2 separate regions of the Homo sapiens genome follow, and region 2 is linked to region 1. Evidence: promoter capture Hi-C in human tissues and cell types (Jung and others, 2019). All regions are on one chromosome and are shown on one strand. Each heading gives the region's core, a stretch centred on a gene start or on the middle of the fragment in contact. The rest is flanking DNA. Distances are from core to core; before and after follow the strand shown.

What was found. Contacts are between HindIII fragments. The study calls those that stand out against the background at their distance.
Region 2: a fragment that was not itself captured here is called in contact with the fragment with the promoter of LURAP1 in region 1 in 1 of the 25 tissues and cell types used here (thymus).

What each region holds. Positions count from the first base shown.
Region 1 is chr1:46,202,029-46,206,404 of GRCh38, reverse strand. LURAP1 (leucine rich adaptor protein 1) reads right to left here and starts at 3,071. Exons shown (of 2, transcript NM_001013615.3): 1 at 2,781-3,071. The coding sequence starts at 2,978. It also overlaps a transcript of POMGNT1 not described here. RefSeq lists a silencer at 3,031-3,150. The HindIII fragment of the contact is 7,969 bases long and covers 1-4,376 here.
Region 2 is chr1:45,307,863-45,312,169 of GRCh38, reverse strand. No RefSeq gene overlaps it. Among named protein-coding and RNA genes, the nearest start is that of LINC01144, 6.1 kb to the right of the region's middle. The HindIII fragment of the contact is 4,644 bases long and covers 1-3,943 here.

The DNA.
Region 1 (4,376 bases), core at 1,822-4,321:
ATAAATCAGGCCCTAGGGTAAAAGCCTGGAAATCCCAGTCCGAGCTCCCAGAGCGGGGACTATCAGAATATTGTTACTATAAAGGTTCTTAACAATCATCTGGTTTCACAGTCCCCATCTCCCTCTACCCCCTCCACCAAAAGGAGGAAAAACTGAGGCCAGGAGAGAGACAGAGTGCTGCTCAAGACCACAAAACGTTTCAGAAGCAGAGCCAAGACTTGAACCCGTGCATTCTTCCTTGCCTAAAGCTTTTTCTCAAACTGCCTCTGTGGAGGTGGGTTGTCATAGCAACAGTTCTTTGGGTGGGAGAACTAAGAAGAAGTTGCCACTGTTTCCCATTCCCACATATCCCAGTCTGGCTTGTTCACTCAACCTTTGAATGGAGGGTAGAGGAAGAAAGCAGGAGGGACGAGGCCTAGAGGCAGGACTGACCTTGGCCTCAAGGGTAGGCCTTCCCCCTTTGTGCAAGGAGAGCTGGGAGAGGAACAATTGAAGGACAGTCCTTAGAGGGCTTGAACCAGTCCTGCCTTCAGTAGCCCGAAGGCAAATCCCTTGCCCCACCCCTTGTCCTTCCTGGGTGCAACCCAGTAGGCAGGGCAGAGCACAAGAAGAGATTAATATTAATAACATCCTGGCCTGAGGAAGGAGAAAAAATAGGATGGGGATCTCTCCTCATTCTGGCCCCAGAAGGCTCCCTCCCTTGTGCCCTTTCTCGGGCAGCCTCAGGCCCCAGGCAAGCTGGGTCAAGAATACAGAGAGACAAAATCAAAAGTTAAATGCAGCCCCTTAAAGTTTACAGATAGTTTCCACCAAGGCAGAGAAGAGAGCCAGAGACTGGGCGTGGCTCTTCCACTGACTCCCTATGTGAGTTCAGAATCTGCAAGCACGTTTTATCTGTAAGATGGGAGAAATGATGACCAGTTTTCTCATTTCAATGACATAAAATGTTCAGACTATCTGGCACAAAGCAGGTCTCAAAGTAAAGATGCAAAGTGCAGTCAGATGATCTGGGTTCAAATCATGGCCCTGCTTTTTGCGTGATGTTGGGCAGTTATTAAACTCCCTGTGCCTCTGTTTTCTTTTCTTTTCTCCTCCCTCCCTCCCTTCCTCCCTTCCTCCCCTTCTTCCCCTTCTTTTTTTGAGACAGGGTCTAGCTCTGAGCTCTGTCACCCAGGCTGGAGTGCAGTGGTGCGATTTCAGCTCACTGCAACCTCCTCTTCCTGGGCTCAAGTGATCCTCCTGCCTCTGCCTCCAGAGTAGCTAGGACTACAGGCACACACCACAACACCCATCTAATTTTTGTATTTTTTGTAGAGACAGGGTCTTGCTTTGTTGCCCAGGCTGGTCTCAAACTCCTGGGCTCAAGCGATCTGCCTGCCTCGGCCTCCCAAAGTGCTGGGATTACAGGCGTGAGCCACCATGCCCACCCTGTGCCTCAGTTTCTCCATCTATAAAATATCACTTAACAGGGTTACTGTGGAGATGAAGAGAGCATCATGTAAAGTGCTCAGCAAGCTGCCTGGCACATGCACTGGGTGAAAGTTTTCAAAGCAAGTAGACAGTCTAGATAGGCTCTTACTAGGCCTTGAGCTAAAGTTTGTACAGTGAGGCAAAGGCAAGCCCCCGCTTAGGTGGGTACAGTCACAGCCTTGCTCTGGAGAATTGGGCACTCACCTCCAACCTTCAAGGCCAAGTGCACACTTGGCATTCAAGTCCTTCTCCCAGGGGGCCTTTCCTGACTGCTCCACCCACCAGACTCTCTTCCCAGCCTCTCAGCTCAGGCGTCGGAGCCCTGGCTGGTCTCAGAGCCCCCATGATTTCCTTCCCCTTCTCCTTCACAGACCAGCTTGGCACAGGCTGGGCACACAGGAAGACTTTAGCTGACGTACTCACTGTGGGCTCCTGGTTGTGAGCCAGGAAGCCGATGGCAATTCCTCAGTTCCCCAGAACTGGCTGCAAAGTAGTGGCAGGTGTAAATCACCCACTTCACCGGAATCAGGGCCCTGGGGAACCTGCCAGGGCCTCGGCTGCCCTTTTGGCTCTGAATCTAGACCAGCAGCAATAGAGAAAGGGGAGGGTTGCTGTTTCCTCTTCTCCCCAAGAATGTACAGATGAGATCCAAATATCCAGTTTACCTGGAAGACTGGCTGGGAGGAGACTGAGTCTGAGGCGAGGGAATCAGCACCAGTGGTGCTGCTACTCTCTGTCCCTGCTATGGGTCTAGGAACTTTCCATTATTTTAAGTAGGGCTGGGGGATGTAGAGGAAACGGAGAAGGTTTTCAGTGCCCCTGGTCCAGGTAGTTTTCAGCAGATAGGCCCCTTTACCCACTTCTTTTCTGTGCGGAACACTGCGGCCTCACAGGAACTTAAACCCTTTCCCGGTTAGCAGAAGGAGAAAAAACCGGTTGCCTTACAACGGGGACTGGCGGGGAATAGGTGGCCCATACAGGCGGGGGGAATTTGTGCTGCGTTGGGTTCTCAGTACTTCCCAGTCCTCATCTCTCTCCTCCCAATTATTTGGCAGGAATAACTTCCAAAACCCACTGCTCCCAACCCAAGTCCTCAGGACCATCAACACCCCACTCACTCTTGGGGGACAAGTAATGGACGTCACTCCATCTCCACCCCAGCGTTTACGGATTGATCTGGGAGGGATTCTGAGCAGTTAGGTGGAGAGTTTTAACTACCTCCTCTCCAGCTTAACTCTGGGAGCATGAGTTCGTCCCTCCCGGCCCTACACTAGGGACTCGTCCCCTTGGCCCATGGATTCAGCACTCACCAGCTCCATCTTCAGCGCCATGATCTTGTCCCCCAAGTCGTGGCCGGTGCTAGACGCCCCTGGGAGCAGCAGGGCGCCAGAGGTTCCCAGCTCACACTCGCCTCGCAGCCCGCGGAGCAGCCCTTCAGGGGTCTTCCTGCCCACCTTACCCTCCACATCCCGCAGGTCAGGCGTCTGGGACTCCACGGTCCCCTCCATGCGGGCCCAAGCCTGAAAAGGGCTGGGCGACCGGACGCCGGGGACCGGCTCCCGGGGGTCCTCCCTTCGCCGCTGCTAAAGCGGAGCAAAACCGGTGGGTCCCCGCCCGCGCGGCGCGGGGGCGGGAGGAGGGCGCCGTAACACTCAGAAAAGCCGCGCAGCACCGTCTGTGGATGTATTCGAGTGCTGCGCACACAACCTCTGGCCCTGGATTGCGTGGGGCTGGGCGATTCTGGAGTTGGACCTGAAAGAGCACTCGGAGACCTCAGCGCCTTCGCCCCACCCTGGCACTGAATCCAGCCAGGCACACAGCAGGCGCCCAATACATGTTTGCAGAATGAAGTCTAAGCAGCTTCAGTCAGAGATGTGGGAGTTTAAGGAACAGCGGTAACAGAGAGCTGCAGAGGGCTTGGAAGTCTTCCTGGAGCAGAGGAATTGGGTATAAAACGATGACTGGATTTTAGCTAGACACACACACACACACACACACACACACACACACACACCACCCCCCCCCCCCAGGGGCTAGAATTCAGGCTAACGGAGTAGAAAAGGGCAACCAGTACTGAAGCTGAAGAGGTCCACGTTGGGCTTACAAGCAAGATGCTCCTTAAGCTTGACTGTGCGTATGAATTATCTGCGGATCTTGTTAAAATGTAGGTTCTGATTTTGTAAATCTGGGGTGGGGCTTGAGATCCTGCATTTTTTTTTTTTTTTTTTTTTTTTTTTTGAGACAGAGTCTCGCTCTGTCGCCCAGGATGTAGCGTGGTGGCGCGATCTTGGCTCACTACAAACCTCTGCCTCCCTGGGTTCAAGCAATTCTCCTGCCTCTGCCTCCTGAGTAGCTGGGATTACAGGCATGCGCCACCATGCCCAGCTAATATTTTTGTATTTTTAGTAGAGACAGGGTTTCACCATGTTGGCCAGGCTGGTCTTGAACTCCTGACTTCAAGTGATCCGCCTGCCTTGGCCTCCCAAAGTGCTGGGATTACAGGTGTGAGCCACTGCGCCCAGCCAAGATCCTGCATTTCTAATAAGCTCCCAGGTGATGGCCATGCTGCTGGTCCACACTTCAAGTAATAAGGGACCACACTTTGAGTAACAAGGTTACAGAAAATGGTTCTGAGATGTTTGGGTTTTATTTAACAGGTAATGAACAGCCATGAAAACTCTGGTTTGTTTAGGCTTTTAATTCAAGTAATTCCAGCCCATGGTTGCAGAAGGATTTACAATGAGAAGATAGTTACCCCTACCCTACCCTTTCACACCTCTAGGCCCACTCCCAATTGGCAAAAAATAACTTTTAGTTTTTTTTTTTCTTTTGGTGTTCATACCCATAACGTTATTGTTTAGAGTTAACTAAAAGTGGTTGCCAATTGGGAGTGGGCCTAGAGGTGT
Region 2 (4,307 bases), core at 372-2,871, 890 kb after region 1:
GCCAGGCTGGTCTTGAACTCCTGACCTCAGGTGATCCACCCACCTCAGCCTCCCAAAGTGCTGGGATTACAGGTGTGACCCACCGTGTCCACCATACATAGGCTTTTAAATTGGCTTTGATGGAACTTCATTACATAAGAGGAATCTCAGAAAAGACTTTTTAAAAGTCGAGCCCAGCCATGGATTTGTGCCATGAAATATCTGTGAGTTGGGTGAATTTCCTCTCCTCTTGAGGTTCCAAGATAAACCTGGGGCTTCTGGGCCTGTCAGAATGTGACGTTATTTACTTACCACACATCAGAAACCCTGCATAGGGACTGTATACACAAAATATGATGCCAGTTTTCCCAAGGGCTTTATTGGCTCCGTAAGTCAGGTTTGATTTCTCAAAGGAAAGCACACTATTCCAGTCAAAGCCTTGGTTAAATAACCAGTTTCTCCAATTGTGTCCTGTTACAAATGAAAACGGATTCTTTTTTTGTTTTTTTAGATGGAGTCTCACTCTGTCTCCCAGGCTGGAGTGCAATGGCATGATCTCATTTGATTTCAACCTCTGCCTCCTGGGTTCAAGCGATTCTCCTGCCTCAGCCTTCCAAGTAGCTGGGATTACAGGTGCACGCCACCATGCCCAGCTAAATTTTGTATTTTGAGATGGGGTTTCTCCATGTTGGTCCGGCCGGTCTTGAGCTCCTGACCTCAGGTGATTCGCCCGCCTTGGCCTCCCAAAGTGCTGGGATTATAGGCGTGAGCCTCTGCACCCGGCCAAAAACAGATTCTTATTGCACTTATGCAAATAACTGTCTTGCCATAAGTTAAGAATATTCACAAATAGCTTCTAATTTCTGAAGAAATCAGGTAGAGAGAAACAAATATGCTCCAAATTTTTTCATAGGAGTATATTAAATTGTTAAAAGCTGTCAGTAGCTCAAAAGAAGTTTTAAGACTCTCAAACACAAAACAAATGTTCAGCAAACATTTTAAGCAAAAAGTTATAAAGATTAGTTCAGTCCATGCAGTTAATTTCTGTTCTGCCTGATACTCATGAACATTTTAGCTCTCCATGAGTCCTAAAGTTTTTCTTCTATTCTGATGTCACACTCTCCAAAGTTATCAGAAACCTGCATTCAAGAACAACTGTTAGAGTTCCATAGCTGACTATAGAACCATCTTCCAAAGAGGACCAAAACAAGACAACAATTGTTCGTAGATGACAAAAGGTTTTAGGGCAGCCATAGTCAAAGACAAAATTGACAAGGAAATTTACCTCTGTGGCATACAATAATTTAACATAACAATTATAATTATTACTGATAATGTACACTAAGTTATATCAGAATTATAGGAGTTTCCCATAATATTGGAACACATATTAATAACATAATTATAGAAATACAGCCTAAAGAAAATGAGACACCATTTCATATTTGACAATGCTACCTGTATCATTTTTATACCAAATAAACCAAATTATGTCATTTTTGGACTTTAGGGAACCTAATCTCTCAAAGGATTAATTACATCAGAAAAAGACCTAATTTACAATTTGATTTTAGAAAGCTTGTTGAGTATCAAAGGTTTAAAACACTTGATATCACAAAATAGGATCACAGGTCATTGTCAAATAAGTCATTCATTTAACCAAAGTGATAACTCAATGTTTTTTTTTTTTAAAACCTTCATTCTTTGAGAGGCAACTTAATTTTCCAAGCAAGAAGACTTAAGAAAAACAGCAATAAGCTAATTAAATTTGTTTTTCAAAATTTTATAAGTGATCTAGAAAATTTTAATGTTGACCGTAAGATAGAGCTTCCATAAGCCTTTTATAAACTTTATAGGCTTTCTTTTTTTTTTTTTTTTTGAGACGGAGTCTGGCTCTGTCTCCCAGGCTGGAGTGCAGTGGCGCGATCTCGGCTCATTGCAAGCTCCACCTCCTGGGTTCATGCCATTCTTCTGCCTCAGCCTCCCGAGTGGCGGGGACTGCAGGCGCCCGCCACTACGCCCGGCTAATTTTTTGTATTTTTAATAGAGACGGGCTTTCACCATGTTAGCCAGGATGGTCTTGATCTCCTGATCTCATGATCCGCCTGCCTCGGCCTCCCAAAGTGCTGGGATTACAGGCGTGAGCTACCGCACCCAGCCTATAGCCTTTCTTAAGGAGTCAGTTAATGCTTCAAGAGGCAGGAGAGTCTCTTTTAATCTGACACAGGGGCCCATGTGCTAGTCTTTCATCAGCACATTCAAGTGCCTTTGACGTTAGTGATTAATATATAGAGAAATTGAACTTTATCTTTCAAAATCAGCCCTTAGAATCTCACGTGCCCACCTCTTCCATGATAGTCCCTGGGCCTTAAGGAGTTGAACGGCTTTAATTTTTGGCCCTGTGTCTCAGAAATGCAGTTTATTTTGACCGGCATCTTCTATGGAGCCTGATGAGGCTTTAATTGCTGTCAGTGTTTAAGATTTAGCAGGACTTGGTGTCCTTTTTGACCCAGGAGTCAAAGCCCTGTAACTCAAGGTCACAAGGACTTTAGAAGTACACACAAGAAGACACATGGATATAGTAACCTCAATTAAAAAAATTTTTGGGCTGGTCGTGGTGGCTCATGCCTATAATCCCAGCACTTTGGGAGCCCAAGGCAGGTGGATCACTTGAGGTCAGGAGTTCGAGACCAGCCTAACCAACATCATGAAATCCCGTCTCTACTAAAAATACAAAGATTAGCTGGGTATGGTGGCGTGCGCCTGTAATCCCAGCTACTCAGGAGGCTGAGGCAGGAGAATCGCTTGAACCCGGGAGGCAGAGGTTGCCTTGAGCTGAACATCCCTCCTTCTTAAACAATTAGTCATTTTATTTTAGGACTAAATTTACCATTCAATATTTTTTTTTTTTAGTAAGTGCTTTTTTTTTTTTTTTTTGAGATGGAGCCTTGCTCTGTTGCCCAGGCTGGAGTACAGTGGTGAAATCTCGGCTCACTGCAATCTCCACCTCATGGATTCAAGCAATTATCCTGTCTCAGCCTCCTGAGTAGCTGGGACTACAAGCGCATGCTGCCATGCCTGGCTAATTTTTGTATTTTTAGTAGAGATGGGGTTTCACCATGTTGGTCAGGCTGGTCCAGAACTCTTTACTTCAGGTGATCCACCCACCTTGGCCACCCAAAGTGCTGGGATTACAGGCATAAGCCACTGCTCGCAGCCACCATACAAGATTCTTTCTCGTATAACATTATTTCTCTTTAAGCTTTCTTACCATAAAAAACCTTTTTTTTTTCTGTCTTTACATCTCTTTTTATTTCCTGGTTTCTTTTACCTTGTTTTATTCACAACCTTAAAATAATCTTTGAATTAGACAAAACTTTTTCACCTTTTTTAAGAAAGTTCACACTTTTTAAAATCAAGAATGTTTTCCTATATTATATATTTTATTGGAAAATACCCAAATAATGAAATATCTATTAATTTAACTTTATATTATAAATTAAGACAAATTTGTCTGCCAGTATTTATCCCATTACATTTACCTAATTTTTTTATTTTAATGGTTTACCTAGATTATGAAAACCACAAGTCATGATTTTTTTTTTTTTTTTGAGATGTAATTTCGCTCTTGTTGCCCAGGCACCTGTAATCTACTGTAATCTCCAGTAGCTGGGATTACAGGCACATGCCACCACAGCTGGCTAATTTTGTATTTTTGGTAGAGACGGGGTTTCTCTATGGTGGTCAGGCTGGTCTTGAACTCTTGACCTCAGGTGATTTGCCTGCCTCATTCTCCCAAAGTGCTGGGATTATAGGCGTGAGCTACTGCACCCAGGCCCAAAAGTCATGATTTAAAGTTATGAAACCGCTGGGCGTGGTGGCTCATGCCTGTAATCCAGCACTTTGGGAGGCCGAAGTGGGCAGATCACCGGAGGTAAGGAGTTCAAGACCAGCCTGGCCAACATGGTGAAACCCCATATCTCCTAAAAATACAAAAATTAGCTGGGTGTGGTGGCGGATGCCTGTAATGCCAGCTACTAGGGAGGCTGAGGCAAGAGAATCCCTTGAACCAGGGAGGCAGAGGTTGCAGTGAGCCGAGATTGTGCCACTGCACTCCAGCCTGGGTGACAGAGTGAGACGCCATCTCCAAAAATAAAATTAAAAAATAAATAAAGTTATGAAACTGCCATTGCAAAATTATAACTGAGACAGTGAGGAAGATATGACCTAACTGACTCCATCTTGCTTCTAAACTCCAAGCTGTCGTTGTTCATTCCTGGACTTTGGGAGAAATTTAGTTTATAGTTTAGCTTTGAAACAAAGATGGT